Regions from separate parts of the Homo sapiens genome. Here region 2 is linked to region 1. Evidence: promoter capture Hi-C in human tissues and cell types (Jung and others, 2019). All regions are on one chromosome and are shown on one strand. The core of a region is centred on a gene start or on the middle of the fragment in contact, and the rest is flanking DNA. Distances in the headings are between cores, read along the strand shown. Region 1 holds the start of CPA2 (carboxypeptidase A2). Region 2 overlaps CEP41 (centrosomal protein 41).

Region 1 (5,217 bases), core at 1,216-3,715:
AATATGCACTAAAGGTGTTTAATTTTTGAAAGTAACTTTCACATTTGATATCTCTTCTCATTCTTACAATAAACCTGAGAGATAGAAGAACGGCATATTTATCGCCATTACTCTGAGTGAGAAAATGAGACACAGGGAAGGTAGGTGGCTTGCCCAATGTCCTGTAGTTGGGACTAGAGCCCAGGTTTTCAGAACCCCAGCTGCATGAGTTAGCATTTCACACTATGTCATGGGAGTCAGAATACAGTCGAAAATAGAGCTCAATCATGTTTAACTGTATTCATTCTGGGAACAGCAACTCCCACTAGATCAAATACCTGGAGATGTTCTTGAGCCTCCAATTGTAGCAGATTTTTAATTTGTTCTTCATTGCTTGGTACAATCTCAAGAACTTGGTCTCTAAAGAAAATTAACCACAAATATGACCTTAAAAGCAAAACCTGGACACTGTTTCCTGTTGCTTTCTGCACCTGTTAGTCTCTGCGTATAACAGATTAATGCAACAGTCAATAATCTCTGTGACAATCCAGAAACTAATAAATAGTATACTAAACCCACATCGCCAGAATGAGAAGGTGATAGAATGGCGTTATTTCCTCCCAGGAAATGTTATCTAAATAATAATGAATAGGTGTACCTGCTCCTAGCAGGAAGCCTGCCATTAAAGTTACCTTTCCCATAGCTAATGAGTCAAATAAAACCTGCTGCTTGTGGAGTGTTATAGCTTTTAATACTTGCCTGTTCCTGTTGTTCAGAAGTAAGTTTTTAAAAAGTGGAATAATTTGGTGCTTGTAAGAGGAAACAATTCATATGTGGGTAGTCCTAAGATTTTGTTTTTAATGGTTTTGGGGGTTTTGTTTGTTCTTTGATTTTGTCAACTGAAAATGTATCAAGGTTCCATCCCCAGACCCCATTCATGGGGCCCAAACATGGGGCATGGCCAGAGATAGTTGGGACCCTGACAAATTATGTGCCGTGCCTCTCTTTACAAACACACACACACACACACACACACACACACACACACACACCCCCTTAATAGGGAATGAAGGATGAACAGGAAAGAGAAATCTCAAAACAATCAAGCACATCTCTTTAGGAAGAGTTCCCTTGGTGACAGAGTTTCCCCTTCTAGCCTTTCTCCACGTAGGCAGACTTCCTAAGTCACTGCCCCAACTGTTTGTGCAGTGGGGAAGGAATCAATACAATGAGCCATGTACAGGGACCAGAATATGGGTCTTCTGAAACCAAGCTCCATGCAATTTCCTACGAACTCCAGTGGAATACAGAAGTGATGGAATGTGAGCTCTTCGAGGCTCACCTGCCACAAATGGTCTGAAAATTCTTCCATTTAAGTCTCATTATTTTCGGTTAATGCATGGACTCCCAGGAGTCCTCCTTTAAAATGGGAAGGCACTGAGAAAAGTAATACAACAGGGTCATATTTCCTGGTGTGTGTTCTAAAGAATAGTAGTTCTTTGAGTTACTCAGTGAAAGAAAGAAAGAAAGAAAGAAAGAAAGAAAGAAAGAAAGAAAGAAAGAAAGAAAGAAAGAGAAAGAAAGAAAGAAAGAGAAAGAGAAAGAAAGAAAGGGCAAGCTGGGAGCAGTAGGTAGTTTATGATTAAAAAAAAGAGTACATGCTGCAACCTAGATCCCCTCTTATAGATTTATAATGCACACTGATTTAGCCAAGGCTCCTAGAAATCCTATAGTTTGTTTAATCCTCTGATTCCCACATTTATTTGACCAGTGGCTTTTTGGGACCAAACTTATTTGATTGCTTTCTTAGCTCCCTGGACCACTCTTCAAAAAATGCTGCCTGAAACCCTTCATAGAATCATGAAGCAAAGTACTTTGGAGCAAAGATGAGTCCTCCAAAGCCAGGAGAGGAGGAGTTGAGCTGAAATCTATAGCCCTGGCCTTTCTACTTCATGAGGTTCCACCACCTAGGTGCTGAATCTAAAGATCGGGGGTTAGGGCACAAGGGCTAACGTGGATGGTAAAGCCCAGAAGAGCAGGAGGAGGTGGGAGAGTAGCATTGACACCCGCTGAGTTGCCTGGAACAAATGGCCACACAGCTGTATTTTCCCTGATGTCTATCATCCCTACAGTCTGATCACTGGAGGGAAAAATGAGTAAGGACAGAGAGAAATAGGGTTATGTGTGTTCAGTTTTCACTTTTGTCTTTTCCTTTAAATGTCATTCACCTCCTTTTTGATCATCCACTCCTTTTTTTCACACTATTGACTTATCCCCAAATCTAAGAGAACTTCTCTGAAAACACTGAACACTTATACCCATTTACTCTGTAACAATCAAAGCCTCCATCAATCAGGTAAGTAAAATTCAAAGAAGCACCAGAAAGCATAACTTACCCCACAAATGTTTCTAGACAGTAGATATGCCCAAAAAGGGCACCAAAAAACAGGATCAACCTCATGGCCATGGGTTTTCCTGGAGTCCAGAATTCAGAGTCCTTCCTGAACTTTATTTGTAGGGATGGCAGCTGAGGGTGATCTGCTGGCCTTCTGAGAACTCACGTGAATTCCCACATGGGAAAATTCCCACCTGCATGTGAAATTCTCAAGGTTGTAGACATCCACCTGTGTGATATCACCAATGTGTACATGTTCCATTCCTAGGATAAGATAACAAACTTTGATGGAAAGAGAACAAAATTGCTAGAGCATACCAAGGGCAATATAGTTATGATTGAGACCATAAAACGCCACTAGCTACCCTGTGATAGAAGCCAGATTAATAGACCTAGAGGTTAAAGTCTTTTCTGGGTCTCTGACACACACACAAAAAAAAGGCCAGAGCATTTATAGTAATTACTCAGGCATCCTGTCTATCACATTCCATTAGTTTGCTCATTTGTTTATTTTTATAATGTTTACCTTGAAACACTGCAGTCACTCAGTCCACATCTGCTGAGTGTCCCTGTAGATGTGGCCCATTCCAATCCTCACTCTACATTAAAACAAAACAGAAGGCCTTTTAATATTCAATTTTGCACTTTCTCGAAAGTGATCCATCTGCATTTGCACCAAATTGATATCCCTCTTTCTGTGCTTTTTCCCAAAATGAAAATGTCTTTCTGATGACATTTCCTATAACAAGCAACAATGAAGTTGCTTGTTATAAAAAGTGTGAATTAAAAGAAAGTGTTTTCTTTAACCATCAATAATTCTTCCATCCAAAGAAAACCATTTGGCATATGTCTTTCCAAATTTCTTTCTCTGCTTTCGAGTTTTTTTCTTAAACAAAGATTAGACCATATCACGTATACTGTTCTTTAAACAAAGGTGATCTTTTCTTGTTCATAAACATAGATCTACATTAATCTGACTTTGTTCTTCATTGCTTAAGAAGAAAATATAACTGCTTATTTTTAGAAACCATAGTTTATTTAATTTTAGTTGTTCATACACGTTATATTAAGCCTAGAAAGCCTCAACCACAACAAGCAGCAAGGAAATTTTCGTCTGTCCTTTGTGTGTCAAATTTATCAGCACACACTTTAAATCTCTGGGTTTGCATTCTCAAATATCTGCTTTAAGGGGAAAGGTATATACACAGTGTTTCTGATTTTAAGAATGACTGGATTAACTTGGTTTTTCATTCTCCTGGGAGTCAGAGAGAAGACAGAAACCAAAAGGCAGAGGCCATAATTCATCCTCATGTCTCCAGCACCTATCAAATAAACAGTAGTTCAATAAACTGGAAGTATGTACTTGGAGAATCAATAAAAGCTTCCTGGAAAAAATCAAGTTTCAGGCTGGGCTCAGTGGCTCACGCCTGTAATCCCAGCACTTTGGGAGGCCAAGGCAGGTGGATCACGAGGTCAGGAGATCGAGACCATCCTGGCTAGCATGGTGAAACTCCGTCTCTACTAAAAATACAAAAAGTTAGCCGGGTGTGGTGGCGGGAGCCTGTAGTCCCAGCTACTCAGGAGGCTGAGGCAGGAGAATGGTGTGAACCCGGGAGGCAGAGCTTGCAGTGAGCCCAGATGGCACCACTGCGCTCCAGCCTAGGCAACAGAGTGAGACTCCGTCTCAAAAAAAAAAAAAAAAAAATGGAGTTTGAGCTGAGCCTTTGTGCCAAGGCAAATGTGAAAAGAGCCTGGATTTCTGGTGGTAAGAAAATATAAGCTAGACAGGGAACCAGGGGAGAGCACATGATACACAGCTGGGTTAAGGAGGAAACTTAGCCTAGCAGAGCAGAGACTTGAACCTGGGAGTGGTGGGGAAGGTAAAATACCAGAAGGTGGGCTAGAGGGCAAAGGATCTCACAATCCAAACAGAGGAGTACACACCAGATGATATGGAGAGCCTTGGAAGGTTTCTAAGCAGGTAACTGATTGATGAGGGCAATGCTGAAAATGGTGAACCTTGCAGGATGGTGCCTGGCAGAGATCCTCTAAGCAGGGAGCCAAATATGAGCCTCTTGGGGAAACCGAGATTTAGGATGCTACATCTGGACTTGTGGATGGCAGAGGAAATGTCTGAGATGGCCTTGAAGAGAGATTTCAGTGGAAGAAACACAAGCCTGTGGTGAGTAATTGGTGCATGACTGGATATAGAAGGAGAAGGTGGGGAAAGGAAGTTCCAGCCCGTGTTAAAGGAGGGATAGGTAGCCACCTCCATGGTTGCCCCCACAACATCTCCCCATCCATTGTGACACTGGGTGAAGTTCCACTGTAAGAATTTGTTTTGATTATCTCCCCTACTGTTAAGCTTTCAAAAAGGAATTTCTGCTGAGAAGTGCTACTCAATGATTGAATCCACTCTCAGTGCTAGGAACATGATAGCTCTCTTTCCTTGCTGGGAAGAACAATGGAAGGGGGTGTTGAGCCTAGAGCTATAATGGGGGTCCAAAAGATGCCTCGCCCCCACCTCACTCCTGAGTCCAAAGGACTCAAAGATGATGCCTGAGTGAGAAAAATAAACATTCCCTGGATGGATGTGCCAAATAAAAATTATAGAAGGCCATTATTTTGGACTAAGCTTCCATACCAGACCCCAGCAGACCAGACTAAAAATCAAAGCAGAGCCACCCATGCTAAGGACCCAAGATAGGTTGTTAACTGACCTGAGAAATCAGGAGAAAGAGATAACAGGCAATTTCCCAAACAGGCCAGTTTAAATCTTCAATAGGCACGATAATGAATCTCTTTTGCTTTAATCCTTACACAAAAAATGTGGCCTGAAGTCA
Region 2 (4,871 bases), core at 1,912-4,411, 150 kb before region 1:
TTTTTGTGTCAGCCATCCTGCTATCTCATTTGTCCAATTAAAGCAAGGAAGAAATCCTCCATTCTCCTTTTTTCCCCATTCTTGGATAGAATGAATGTCTATAGTGAAAAGAACTCATCAGTAGTCCTCTCAGATTTGGTCTGAATTTCACCAAATATTTGTATAATTGCAAAAAACTTGTTTCTCAGCCTTCTCCTTTAGGGGGAAAACAAATAGAGGGCATGATGGCCTACCTCCCTGCATTGTGGTGAGGGTCAGCTGATACAAAATAAAGTGTTAAGTGTAATTACCCTGAAATGTTTGTAATTAATGGAGAAATGAAGTGTAGACACTTTGTTAGTAGAAACCACTGTGGTTTGGAAATGCAGTGTTTCAATAATAAAGACTGGATAAATAAGGTTGTGGTTTGGAAATGCAGTGTTTCAATAATAAAGACTGGATAAATAAGGTTGTGGTTTGGAAATGCAGTGTTTCAATAATAAAGACTGGATAAATAAGGTTGGCTAGTGTTTTCCATTCTTCAGGGAATTTACAACACAAGATGATCCCCACCTCTCACTATTAAGGAAGTAGCATTTCCTACAAATTTACCTCATGATTAATTGTGTTTTTTTACAACAACACAACAAAAAAAGATGTGTTTTTCAGGAGGTTGGAAATGCGAATCCTGGCTTAGTTACTAACTTGCCATGCCACCAGACAAATCAGGTGTTCCTTTTTGTCCCTCATTTTCTGACTAGATTGCCTAAAGCTTCCCTAGCCGAAAGAAACTACCTGCCACGTCAATAACATGCAACTGTGGGTGACTCAGGGACATATAACCTAAAGCTACTGGGTAAAATATTTTAAGAATGAGACTTGGGAAGCTGAACAGCATACTGATTTGCCGTCTTCTTCCGCCATTGTATTGACCAGGCAAGTCCACGCCTGAGTTCAGAGTTGCAGTGGGCAGGAGAGATGTGTGTCCAGGAAGAAATTGTGGCTTCTGCTCTGAAGATCTGGTCACATCTCGGGTCAATTGCAGTTTGAAGAACCTAGGAAAGACTGTATTTGGTTCTAATCTTGGTGATATTTGGGCCTCTTCTAAGAGGTATTCAGTGTCTCTCTTGAGAAGGCTTAGGCCTTCCTGGCAGCCCTGACTGCCTTCATTTCTCTTGGAACTTCCAGGTCCAGGCCTGCTCTGAATCCTCCTTTCTGGTCCTGGATACAGAGAGTGTATGTCTTAACACCAAAAAAAAGAAAAGAAAAGAAAAGAAAACAATGGTGGATTTTTATTCCATGATGAATTCATGGTAAAGATTTAATAATAGCCAATGAAATAAGTTGTTTTTTTGAAAATGTATTTTGGGTTTCAGAGCAAGGATTTTCTTTTTCTGCTTCTGACCCAAACATGAAGAAAAGTTCAGAATAGTCCTTGAAAATGTCAGTTCATGCTACTATTAATTGAAAGCATTTCTTTTATCTGATGTTGGGGCTGCATCTGACTAGATCCTCTCCAGGCTTAAAAAGTTAGGAGCACAGTTTTAGAAATGAGAAATTATTTTGAATGTTTTCCTTTTGCCATACCTTTTAGGTGACAGAAAGAGCTTCCTGCGTTGAATTGAATCAAATCGAAGCATACCCAGTAAAATATAATAGCCCCTGGCTTGACAGCTAGAATTGAGTTGGAAACCAGAAGGTTCCTGGCTGAGTTTTTTAAGTCTGAAAACCTCCAAACCACCTTGGCCAGTACTAGTATTATAGAAACATACTATAAAACATGAGGGCTGGGGCCTCTCTGCAGTTTCAAGAATCTGCTGTTATTTCTCAGCACATCAAATCTATGGTGAATACTAGTGTGTAGACTGTGTAGTCTAGTTCAGACTGCAACGTGAGCATGAACGGTAGAAGAGTAAGTTCAGGAAAGAGAAGGAAACTGTGAAGACAAAGCCGAGAGGAGAGAGTTGCTTGGGTAACCACAAAGGCACATTTTAGACACTCAAAGAACACTGCCTCCTTTTTGCTCCTCTTCTGTGTATCTTCCCCACAAAAAGATCGTCAGCGGGGGCAGGGGAGATAAAAGGAGGAGGAAAGCCTAGACTTGAAAAACAAACTGATAGAAAATGATCATCTGTATCTCCTGGAACTTGTCAATGTTTTGGGGGTATGCATCCCAGCTTAAACACATTCTACCAAAACATTTCCCTCGGCTCTGCAACTTTTAATAACGCTGTATTATCCAAAAGATTTTACTGTGTGTGGCCTGTTTGCTGCTGTCCAGAATCCCCTAAGAACAGGATAGGAAAGCTTAGGGGATACTTTTCCTCCATTCTGTTTCCACAGTGTTACTCATTTGCTTCCATTTAAAGTATATCTAAAACCCCTTATTTTCTTTTTAGGTAACAGTATGACTAAATATACTGAGAAGCTCGAAGAGATTAAGAAAAGTAAGTAACACTCTTGATGGTTTGGGAGAGTGGAAGTCTATAGTTGTTCTATAAATTGGTTCTTAACTAACAATTGTGTTCCACAGGTGACAGGCACAGAGAGCTATGGATGGTCCGATAAGCCTAGCAGGTGCCTCAAGGGCTGTGGGAGATCCTGGGTGCTGTACTGGGCTGCTTCTCAGATTGTGGCCTGTAGGCCTAAATTCTGCCCTATTTCCATCCCATAGGAGACATTAGTGTTGGCCTGCAGAGTCAGATCTGGTGGAATGAGCTCTGCTTAAGCTTCTAGTGTCATTGTACTGCAGTCTTCATGCCCTTCTTCAAGATATTTCATCTTTTCTGTCTTATTTTGTCTCTATTTGAGATAGGGGGTAATAATATCTTCCTTCAGAACATTCTTGTGTGTATAAATGAGAGTATTCATGGAAGACAGGGACGTGAGAACTTAGTGTTATGCATTATCAATTCATTGCAGTCTGTTTTCTTTTAATTAAAAATCATATTTCATCTACATCCTTTTAAAAAACTTATCTGCAAAGATATGTTACCAGTCATTGAGTGCATTGCCCTTGCACAAAATCATAATTTTTCAGTCTGCATCCAAAACTGATGTAAAGTGTATACTTCAAGGCCAGAATTAAGGAAGAAGTAGAAACATCTATTTTCTAAGATGGATTTGCTCATATCTTGAATAAGAGAACCCAGTGCTAGGGGATATTTAGTTAATGGTGGTAAAGAGGTACTCTGATTAATCATAGTTCAGGACTTGGCTCTGGTAATGTACATCTTCTTGGAAGATAAAATTGCACATCCAGAATACATCAGAACATTTTCTTCTTTTACACAGCAGACCTTTTATTTGAAATCAAAGTTCCATTTGAATTGCTGCAATATTGGGAAACCCCAACCAATAGATGTGGACTCAGGAGCTGCTTTATGCTGTGTTTTCATTTGCCATGTTCAGCTATAAGGGCTAATGCTACAAACTTCTTAAAAATATGTAATGCCACAGTATCCTTCTCTTTTCTTCCTGAACATTTTATATTACATAAGTATATGTATTTTAAATATCTATATAAAATATATACTTTTAAACTCTGGAGAAAGATCGCATTTACTCACCTACACTTCATTGTTGCCATCCTTGACTCATCCAAGACAGGCAGAATCCAGCTGGCCTGCTTCTTTTTGGGTTTGTCGTCTCTGTCACCTCTCATCCATTTGCAGCTGAGTGTGAGTTCACATGTCCTCACTAGAAATTTGTCCCATAAAAATGTCCCACTCTGCCCAGGTTGCCATAACCTCACTTAAAACATTTCTTCAAAGTACGATGTGGTTTCTTTAATATCTAAACCTTACGTGGAGGTGATCTCCCAGAACAATACCCTTGGAACAGAACCTTGAAAAATGCTTGCTTCACTTTCCCTCTGTAGGAGTGGAGGGCTTCCTTTTAGTAGAGCAGGAGATTCCTGTTACCCCATTTCACACACTTTGTGCTGATTCCCTGACAGAATTGCTTTAGATTCTGGTTTGGCATCTACATTTTAGAAGATATTTCCTTCTCTTTCCCCATTTTCTGTTGTAAGTATTATTTGGGGTTGAAAGGGAGGAGAATATTCCCTTGTTTCTTGATACCCTAGACCCATCACTTTACTCAGATTACCTTAGATGCCATTTCTTTCTGTGAAACCACAAACCTTGTTCTGTTACTTCCTTTGATTTGTCTTCCACTGTGAACCCAACTTCCCTTTGCTAATAATGCATTTCAACAGAACCCTGAAAATGCAGAAATCCTTTGTAATCTGAATATTCTTTCAACTCTACCTGGGGAAAATAGACACTCTATGTCTATTGACAATTTACAAAGCCCATTCTTGGTTTCTGGTGGTTAGATGACACTAGTTGGACCCAGTGTGAAACATCCTAGATAGTCAGGTCTCTGTCCTTCCAGTAACTCGAGAGAGACAGACTTAGAACCTAGACTTACTGGAGAAGCACACCTTGATAACATATCTGAAACTAGGATTGTCTTCAACACAGAGTTTGGGAGAAGACACATAGCAGAAGCTCCATTCTTAAAGCTCTGTTCGCTCTTGCGAGGACAGACTGACAGAGCCTTCCAAGTCATCCTTTTTATAAAAATTTAAACTTACTGTAGAACATCTAGTTTGATCTTTTATCTCTGAGTAATCATGTCAAAAAGTCCTACTGACGGCTGTCCTTCTAAACCAGAACCAGGTACGTGGAGTTCAGGTTCAAATATGTAGGGGGCTGCTAGTGCTTGTGCAGAAGACAGTAGAAATCCCAATCTTTAGAATAAAGCAGTCTTTTTTTTGTTTGTTTAAATTAATCTTTGTTTAGTTAAAGGAGATTTTAAAGTATACATTTTATGCTTAGAAGCATTTTAAACCTTGTAACCATACCAAAAGAATATCAGTGGATAAA

Evidence for each region. The method cuts DNA at HindIII sites, captures the fragments that hold promoters and counts their contacts. A contact is called where the count stands out against the background at its distance.
Region 2: a contact is called between a fragment that was not itself captured here and the fragment with the promoter of CPA2 in region 1, in 1 of the 25 tissues and cell types used here (dorsolateral prefrontal cortex).

Annotation. Positions count from the first base shown.
Region 1 is chr7:130,264,111-130,269,327 of GRCh38, reverse strand. It overlaps CPA2 (carboxypeptidase A2), which reads right to left and starts at 2,465. Exons shown (of 11, transcript NM_001869.3): 1 at 2,376-2,465; 2 at 318-399. The coding sequence starts at 2,446. The HindIII fragment of the contact is 6,290 bases long and covers 1-4,247 here.
Region 2 is chr7:130,414,474-130,419,344 of GRCh38, reverse strand. It overlaps CEP41 (centrosomal protein 41), which reads left to right. Exons shown (of 11, transcript NM_018718.3): 3 at 2,379-2,426. Among named protein-coding and RNA genes, the nearest start is that of CEP41, 24 kb to the left of the region's middle. The HindIII fragment of the contact is 3,284 bases long and covers 1,520-4,803 here.